Regions from separate parts of the Homo sapiens genome. Here regions 1 and 3 are each linked to region 2. The links are contacts of gene promoters, found by promoter capture Hi-C in blood cells and fetal thymus (Javierre and others, 2016). All regions are on one chromosome and are shown on one strand. The core of a region is centred on a gene start or on the middle of the fragment in contact, and the rest is flanking DNA. Distances in the headings are between cores, read along the strand shown.

Evidence for each region. The method cuts DNA at HindIII sites, captures the fragments that hold promoters and counts their contacts. A CHiCAGO score of 5 or more calls a contact.
Region 1: a contact is called between the fragment with the promoter of CREB3L4 here and the fragment with the promoter of S100A2 in region 2, in 7 of 17 cell types (total B cells, erythroblasts, monocytes and 4 more). The highest score is 6.4, in total B cells.
Region 3: a contact is called between the fragment with the promoter of GATAD2B here and the fragment with the promoter of S100A2 in region 2, in 3 of 17 cell types (neutrophils, naive B cells and erythroblasts). The highest score is 6.8, in neutrophils.

What each region holds. Positions count from the first base shown.
Region 1 is chr1:153,966,452-153,969,151 of GRCh38, reverse strand. It overlaps CREB3L4 (cAMP responsive element binding protein 3 like 4), which reads right to left and starts at 1,250. Exons shown (of 10, transcript NM_001255978.2): 1 at 988-1,250; 2 at 453-630; 3 at 1-222. The coding sequence starts at 626. It also overlaps a transcript of SLC39A1 not described here. RefSeq lists enhancers at 984-1,103, 1,134-1,243, 1,454-1,673, 1,108-1,964 and a silencer at 992-1,493. The HindIII fragment of the contact is 4,469 bases long and covers 189-2,700 here.
Region 2 is chr1:153,564,564-153,567,263 of GRCh38, reverse strand. S100A2 (S100 calcium binding protein A2) reads left to right here and starts at 1,420. Exons shown (of 3, transcript NM_005978.4): 1 at 1,420-1,758. RefSeq lists enhancers at 259-498, 196-1,395, 1,369-1,428, 1,548-2,305, 2,306-2,700 and 1 more. The HindIII fragment of the contact is 6,475 bases long and covers 1-2,700 here.
Region 3 is chr1:153,921,556-153,924,255 of GRCh38, reverse strand. It overlaps GATAD2B (GATA zinc finger domain containing 2B), which reads left to right and starts at 1,284. Exons shown (of 11, transcript NM_020699.4): 1 at 1,284-1,523. LOC101928059 (a long non-coding RNA gene) reads right to left here and starts at 883. Exons shown (of 4, transcript XR_922160.3): 1 at 294-883. RefSeq lists silencers at 209-503, 1,181-1,500 and an enhancer at 811-1,050. The HindIII fragment of the contact is 8,959 bases long and covers 1-2,700 here.

The sequences.
Region 1 (2,700 bases), core at 1-2,500, 400 kb before region 2:
ATTTGGCCCAGTTTCCCCCTGCATCCTCTCCAGGGCCCCTGCCTCATAGACAACCTCATAGAGCATAGGAGAACTGGTTGCCCTGGGGGCAGGGGGACTGTCTGGATGGCAGGGGTCCTCAGAGATGCCACTGTCACTGCCAGGAGATGCTTCTGAGCAGTACACCTCATTGGGATCAATGAAAAGCTTCAAGAAATCTTCAGGCTCACTCTCTTGAAGGCCCTACAGTAGGAAAAGGTTATATATATGTGCAGGGAAGAATTTTGGAAGTCCTCCCTGACTTATGCTTCATTTTCAGTCCTTTCACTTCTTGGGCATGGAGACAGTTATTATACAACTTACGTCTATTTTGGGGGTGGTCTGTTTTCAGACCTGTCTCCAAGTGGGAGCTGAAGCCTCTTATCACAGAGTTGTGTCTCAACCCCACCCCCACTCCCACTCGTCACACTCACACAGCCACGGTCCCCACCGGACTTCCAGCCTTGCAGTCCCTGTTCCTGTAGCCTAGTTACCGGAACCTCTGGAGGGGGGCAGTGGAGTCCCAGCTCCAGGACGGATCCTGTCGAGAAGATATCCTCTGGGGGCTCCAGCCACGCGTCCAGCAGGTCAGGGATTCCGAGATCCATGCTTCTGCAGGAAGGCGTGTGGGACGGAGGGTTGCAGAAACGGAATGATGGCTGCTTACTACCCCCTACAGTTTCTGGGCTCCTCTGCTCCCTTTTCCATTATCCCCGCCCCCCCACTCCTTCCTCACTAGCAAGCCCCCTCACCTGTCCCCTCGATATTTCACCTTCAGCCCTATCCCTCAGGTTTAGACAAAGAGGCCCCCCCCAAGCATTACCTGTTCTGAAGAGCCCAGCCCTGTCAAGCCAGCATAGCCCGTTGACCTCCCCAAACACTACACCTTTTCTTTCTTCCAGGATCTCGTATCCTGGACCTGCCAGCCAAACCCCGCCCCCAGCCTTACACTACAAAAGTGGATGCCACCTTGCCAGGAGCCACGGTAGGGCCGCTGTATCTGGGAGTAGGGGACTAAGAGTCTGAGGGTCCACAAACGGAATTTAAGAAGTAGGTAGCCGCGCCCTTTCTGCTGCAGTTTTCTCTTAGCTATAGTAAATCTTCCTGAGGGTTTGGTGTCTCCTAGCTGAAGAACAGAAAAGGCTGTGACTGGAGCACAGGACTCCTGAATGCCTGTTCTGTAGCCCTCGCTTTTGCAAGAGGGAGATCATGGCAGGGTTGTAAACAAAGGCGGAAAGAGTCAAGAGACCTGCGAATTTACTAGGGCATCCCCTCGCCCACCGCGTGGCGCTCTTCCCAAAGCTGAGTCCTGATTGGAAGCTGAAGACTTAGGTTTCGGAGGGGCAGGACATCGAGCCAATGGCACACTACCCTCTCAAGGCCGCCTCTTCCGTAACTGGTCGGAGACAGTTTGGCTGTTCAGGAGAGTCAGGCCAATGGGGCCGCAGTTCTTTCTTTTTTTTTTCTTTATTCTTATTTTTGGAGACAGGGTCTCGCTCTGTTGCCCAGGCTGGAGTGCGGTGGTGCGATCACGGTTCCATGCAGCCCCCGACCTCCCGGGCTCAGGTGATTCTCCCGCCTCAGCACCGCGAGCAGCTAGGACCACAGGCGCGAGCCACTGCGTCCGGCCGGCGGGACTTATTTGTCAGGCGGGGATTGGGTTCCGCCAGCCTAAAGGGAGGGGTAAGCGCCAGAATATGAATCGCCGGGAAGCTGGGAGAAAGCTCCGGGAAACCCTGAGCAGCCAGGTTTGTCTTCGCGCGCCACGTGACTCGGAAGCTCCGGTTTCACCCAGGCGGGGAGTCAACAGCCCGCTGACCCCAGTGGAGCGGTGATCCTCGCTCGGCAGGCGGCAGGAGCGCGATGGCGGGTTTCCCCGTCCGCAAGCCGAGCAGTGTGGCGTTAATGGAGAACAGCAGCTGTGCGCACACGCTCGCTGCACGCTGCTCATTCACGGAGGGACACGGGGCAGGAAAACTGCAACAAGTTAAAAAGCCTTTTGCGTTTGTTGTCTTATTGTTTGCATACAGTTACCGGGAACATTATGTCCCACACTTGTATAATTTACAAAACGTTTTCATAAAAATTGTTCTCTTCCTTAATCCATAACAGTTCTGAGGCACACACGGCGGGTAATATTTTGCAAATTTTACCTATGAGGAGGCAGATCCATGACTAGAAAGTAGTAATACCAAAACTCAGGGTTGATTGATTATTTTTATTTTTTTGCCTTGGTCTAATGTCTGATGGTCCAGGAATTCACTTCAAGTAAAACAATGGAGGTAAACTGATACAGGTATGGTTTTCAGTAGTATTTCAGAAAAGGGTAGCTGGGTGAGTAAAACAGTAGTTTGGAGTGTGAATCCCAGAACTCAAACTGCTACTAATTATCCTTATGAAGATTTGAACGGGCTAAGGGTAAAAACGGGAACAGGGTCTAGTCAGGCATTTCCATGTTACTCATATAATTCTTACAGCAGATGGAGCTGACAAGTTTGTTTGTTTGTTTTTCTTTTGCTCTGTGGCCCAGGCTGGAGTGCAGAGGCTCGATCTCGGCTCACTGCAAGCTCCGCCTCCCGGGTTCACGCCATTCTCCTGCCTCAGCCTCCCTAGTAGCTGGGACTACAGGCGCCCAGCTAATTTTTTTGTATTTTTAGTAGAGACAGGGTTTCACCGTGTTAG
Region 2 (2,700 bases), core at 171-2,670:
GAGTGAGAACATACCGCCTGGCTTTAAGGGACAGCCATGGGGATGCACTGCAGTTTCTGAGCAGGGAAGGCCCTGTGGAGGCCCTTAGTTAAAAGGAAAGAATGGCTGTGAAAATCGATGCATTGCGCTCCCTTGTCCCTCACCCTCAGTGTGAAGGGTTTTTATTCCGAGTTCTACTTGAAGTAGGCCTCGATGGGAAGACAAGTAGCATGAGGGGTTCAAGTACTGAGGGGAGCAAGGGACACTCGGTGGCTGTGCCAAGGTGTAGAAGAGGACACTGGGGGCCCCAAGGCCTGACTTCATGTACACTGCTCAGGCTGGCCCCCAAGTCACACGGTGACCGCTAGGAAGGGACCAGCCTGTTCTCAGTCTGATCCTCCTGCCATGTCATTATCCAAAGCTCCTCCTGGCAGGGCCTGTTTGGGGTCTCTGTGCCAGTGCTTTCCCTGCCAGGCTGGGCTGGGGCTTCCACCTACTGCTCTGGGACTGCTGCTGCCCTGGCCCTGGGGGAGGAGGGTGTGCCGCTGAGTCACTGCCTGGGCATCTGGGCCTGGAACCTCGGGTGAGTCACTTAGGGCTGAGGTAGAGGGGCTGGGGGAGGGGAAGAAGCTACTCGACAGCTGGAGCAGGGAGGGGAGCTGGGGCCACAGGAAGGGCGGTGCCCTGATGCCCAGACGGGCCGGGATAGACAAAGGGCCAAGGAGGAAGGGGCCCTGGGAGGGGGCAGCCCTCCCTTGGGCTGGGCTCTGAATGGCCACAGTGTTTGCCTTTCTCCGGGTCTGGGGAGGACATGTGTGTGGGGGGCAGTGAGAGAGGGCTGTGGCTGAGGGCTGTGCTTCAGGCCTGGATTCTGGCTTGGGAAGCTGTCCAGCTGGTGTTTTCAGCCTTGGGTAGGGATGTACCCCTACCCACCCACCCAGCCCTCAAGCTGGAGAAGAGGAGGCCAAAGTTTTCCTGTTCAGCCTTTAACTACTCGGGACTTCCTTATGCTCCCCACAGACTGTGGCCCAGCCCAACTGCGGCTGTGTGTAGAGCAACCCCATTTCTCACTGCTTCCCCATCCTTCCAGACACCTTCCTACACAGAGGGACCTTCCCAGGTATTTCTAAGCACACTTAGTTACCTCATTACCTCATTAAGAGGTATTCTGGTGCTGGCCATTAAAAGTCACTCCACTTCATCCATGCCCTGAAGTCAGTCCTGTCCTTCTCCTCCTGATGTCCCCCAGCTGCCTCCTCTGGCCCCCAGCTTCCTAAGGGTGGCCCCAGGTTGCTTCTCTCTCACACACACGGGCGCATGTATGTACACGAGCACTGGACCATGAAGTCTCAGCGTGTGCTCACAGCCTCTCACACAGGAGTGGGCTGTGACTCACAGGCATGTCATGAGAATGAGGCCTGGCACCAGTCTCCAGGCCCCAGAGCAGGGGTTGCCTCCCCTCACCCCGGTCCAGGATGCCCAGTCCCCACGACACCTCCCACTTCCCACTGTGGCCTGGGTGGGCTCAGGGGCTGCCCTTGACCTGGCCTAGAGCCCTCCCCCAGCTGGTGGTGGAGCTGGCACTCTCTGGGAGGGAGGGGGCTGGGAGGGAATGAGTGGGAATGGCAAGAGGCCAGGGTTTGGTGGGATCAGGTTGAGGCAGGTTTGGTTTCCTTAAAATGCCAAGTTGGGGGCCAGTGGGGCCCACATATAAATCCTCACCCTGGGAGCCTGGCTGCCTTGCTCTCCTTCCTGGGTCTGTCTCTGCCACCTGGTCTGGTGAGTACCTCTGTCCTGCTGAGGGCAGGGTGGGGAGGATCCCCGTGGGTCTCTGTCTTTGTCTCCACAGTTCTCTCATTCCAGCTTCCCTGGTGGGATCAACCTGGGCCTCTCTGGGCCTTCCCCCTTGGAAGAACTCTCTGTGAAGTGCTGAAGTGTTGACTGAAGGGTTTTTTTTTTTTTTTTTTTTTTTTGAGATGGAGTCTCGCTCTGTCGCCCAGGCTGGAGTACAGTGGTGTGATCTCAGCTCACTGCAAACTCCCCCTCCCAGGTTCACGCCATTCTCCTGCCTCAGCCTCCCGAGTAGCTGGGACTGCAGGCGCCCACCACCATGCCCGGCTAATTTTTTTGTATTTTTAGTAGAGATGGGGTTTCACCATGTTAGCCAGGATGGTCTCGATCTCCTGATCTCGTGATCCACCCATCTCGGCCTCCCAAAGTGCTGGGATTACAGGAGTAAGCCACCGCGCCCGGCCGACTGAAGGGTTTTTCTCCAGGTTCCTCTGTGAGGTCTCAGTGCAGGGGTTGCTCTGAGGCCCTCCCCTGGATATCTCAGTCTAGGGGCCCTTCTTTGGGGGTCTAGGCCTAGGAGCAGGAGGTGTGCATGTGGGCGTTGCTGCAAAAAGAATCCTGAGATTTTTTTTTTTTTTTGCAAAGTCCTGGATTCTAGCAGGACTAAGGTGCAAGAGGCAGGGGTCTCAAGACTCTGCCTGGGTCATGGCCCCAAGCAGCAAAGCTCTGCCCCCTGCCTCGGTGAAGGCAGGGCTGGCATGATGGGCCCAGGGCATGCCCTGCCTCTGGCATAGCTCCTCTGGCCTCACCCTGAAACCTGCCTAACCTTTCCAGGCTGGTCTGAGTATTCTCAGAGGCCTTGCCGCTGAGGTCTGTCCCATCCTGATCCCAAGGCAATGAACATTTCATATCTTTAATTCTAATTCCAAC
Region 3 (2,700 bases), core at 35-2,534, 360 kb before region 2:
ACCTGGGAGGCGGAGGTTGCAGGAACTGAGATTGTACCACTGCACTCCAGCCTGGGAGACACAGTGAGAAAACAACAATAACAAAATGCCTGTGGAACCAGTTGTTTCTGGGTTTAAACCACTGCTTAGTCACTAACTAGCGGTCTGACCTTTGGCAAGTTACTTAACCTCTCTGAGCCTTAGTTTCCTCATCTACTTGGGTTCAAATTTCAGCTCTACCACTTAACGTGTAACTGGACAAATTTTTTGATCCTAATTTTCCTCATTTGTAAAGTAGGGATAACAGTACCTACCTCACAGTCATGAGGAATAAATACTTCATGTAAAGTTCTTAGCACAGAGCCTGACACAGTCTCTTTCCAAAAACGTTAACTACTATCATAACCTTAACACCCGGACTCTGTTACTTGGTCCCTATCCTCAAGGTGCTCCAGAAACGCTCGCTGAGTTTAGGCGGGCCTAACTGCTCCGTGGAAGCAGGGAGGCCAGCAAAAGGAGCTGGCCCTTGAGTTAATTAGGTGGAATCGGGCGGGGTGGGAGGCTGTTTCCTCGCTGAGAACCTAACCAGACCAGGAGTTCCCAAGAGAAGGAGCTGCGAGGGCTCTGCACACCGTAATTCCTCAGCAACTTGGCTAGCTGCTTTTTTTTTTTTCCTGCTGTCGTGGTTTAGTCACGACAGGACCAAGCGGAGGTACGATGAACACCAGGAAGCTCAAAGCCTTTGGCAGACGGAGACAGGCCACACCCCAAAAAGACGGCAAGGCTCAAGCGCCTAAAGCTAGTTCTATCGTGAAATTTCCTAGAGTCTGTCGCGACGAAACACCGCCCACCGCAGACCCCATCGCCGTTCGCCAGTCTCCATCTTTAGAATTGAAAGAATGAGAGATGGCCAAAGGGGAATCCCGGTTTGGAGAGACTGGGGTACGGCGGCTGCCTGGGGACCAAAACGTCTCTAAGGTAAAGTTGCAGCCTGAAGCGATTTTTTGACCCCCGACACTTAATGGGCTGTCGAAGACCCGGATGTGTCTGGGACTGGCAGAGGTACCCATTAACGCGCCCCCGCTAGACCATCCCCCCTCCTCCGTTTATGATTGGGTTTTAAGCACGCCAATCATCACTTCTCCGGCCACTCATTCTTCAAGGGTGGGGTGAAGTCCCGGCATCTAGTCTTCTACTGGCATGGCCGAGAAGATGAGGGCGGGGTGGCCGGCTTAGGTCGCCCAATGGGCGTCGTGGCGTGTGGGTAAGGCGGAGCCGAGGCGCTTGGCAGCTGCCCAATCAGCGTCCTTGTTTGTGTGGTGCCGCCGCCGCCGGTGCAGCCGTCGCCGCCGCCGCTGCCCCCGTCTGTACCGCAGTGTCTGCTCCGCCCGCCCGCCCCGGTCCGGCCCGCCCCCCTCCCCTACCCCCGTCCCTAGTCCCGTCAGCAGGGTCTGGATCCCCTGTGCCGTCGCCTCTTCCTTTTTCGACGCCTCCGCCGCCGCCTGAGGAGGCGAGCTAGCCGGGAGTTACACCGCCACCGCCAGGTGAGGAGCTTTGGCCTAGGCCAGCCTGGCCGCCCGCCCGCCCGGGGGCGGTGAGGAGCGAGGAAGGGAAGGAGGCTGGGAGGAGGCAGTGGTGGCGGAGGTGGGGGAAGGGAAAGGTGGAGGGGCGGGGGGAGGGGAAGCGCCCGCGAGCCGACGCCCGCCCGCGCGCCCCCGCCTTGCGTCCCCCTCCCCCCACCCCGGCACGGCGCGCCCCCGCCTCGCGCTCCTTCTTCACCTCATCCTCTCCCCCCTTGGCGCGCGCGACCCGGTCTTTCACTTCGGCCTCGCGCGCCCCCAGCTCGTGTCCCTTCATTTCGTCTCCTTGTACTCTTTCTCCCCTCCCTCACGCCCCGTTTCCCCCGCCATCCCCGCTTTCACTCCCTGCCTCATGCCCGCCATGCTCCCCTCCTTTCCTCTCTAGCGCGCCCCCCCCTTTTTTTTTTTAACTCTCTCCACCCCCAGTGGTGCCCTCAGGGTGCGGGGGCCGCTCCCTGCTCAGTCTTGTGTTTGCGGGCGGATGGGACGAATGGGGAATCTAAGGGTAAAGGAAGCACCAGATAATTATCTTTATTTAGGGAAAGGGATCAGGAGCGCATAACCTTACCCCTTTATTTCGTCGTCCACCGTTCGCTCGCCCTCCCGTAGGGGAAGAGAATTGTCTCAGGCTATGTGGGCACTTAGCTTCTACAGCGACTGGGCTTGTGGGACACACTGGATCTGTCTTCCAGTTCAGTTCCTGAGGGTCGGTGGAACTTACCCTTCCCTAACCACACCGGGACTTAGAGTACTTTTGGCCTCCCTGCTCTCAATTACATTGAGGAGCGAGCCACTCATGCGAGTGCAGAGGTTCAGGTGCCATTCGCGCGCCCGGTACAGCTTTCCCGTTTCATAAAGGTATGGTAGCCTCTTTGGATTCTTCCCCAGCATCAACTTCCAAACACAAGATGTTAGCTCATAGGGCTGGCAGTGAGGTGGAGATGGAGGCTTGGTGGTGGGTGGCATGTGGATGCTAACTGAGCTAGCTAGCAACCTTTTCTCTGTTGTCCCCTGGAAAATCAGGTAGCCTCCTGAGAACCAGTTTTCTCATTTCTGATAAATGCTTATTTGGGGGGCGTGTGTGTGTGCGTGTGTGTGTGTGTAAGAGAGAGAGAGAGATGGGGGGATACTTAATACATTT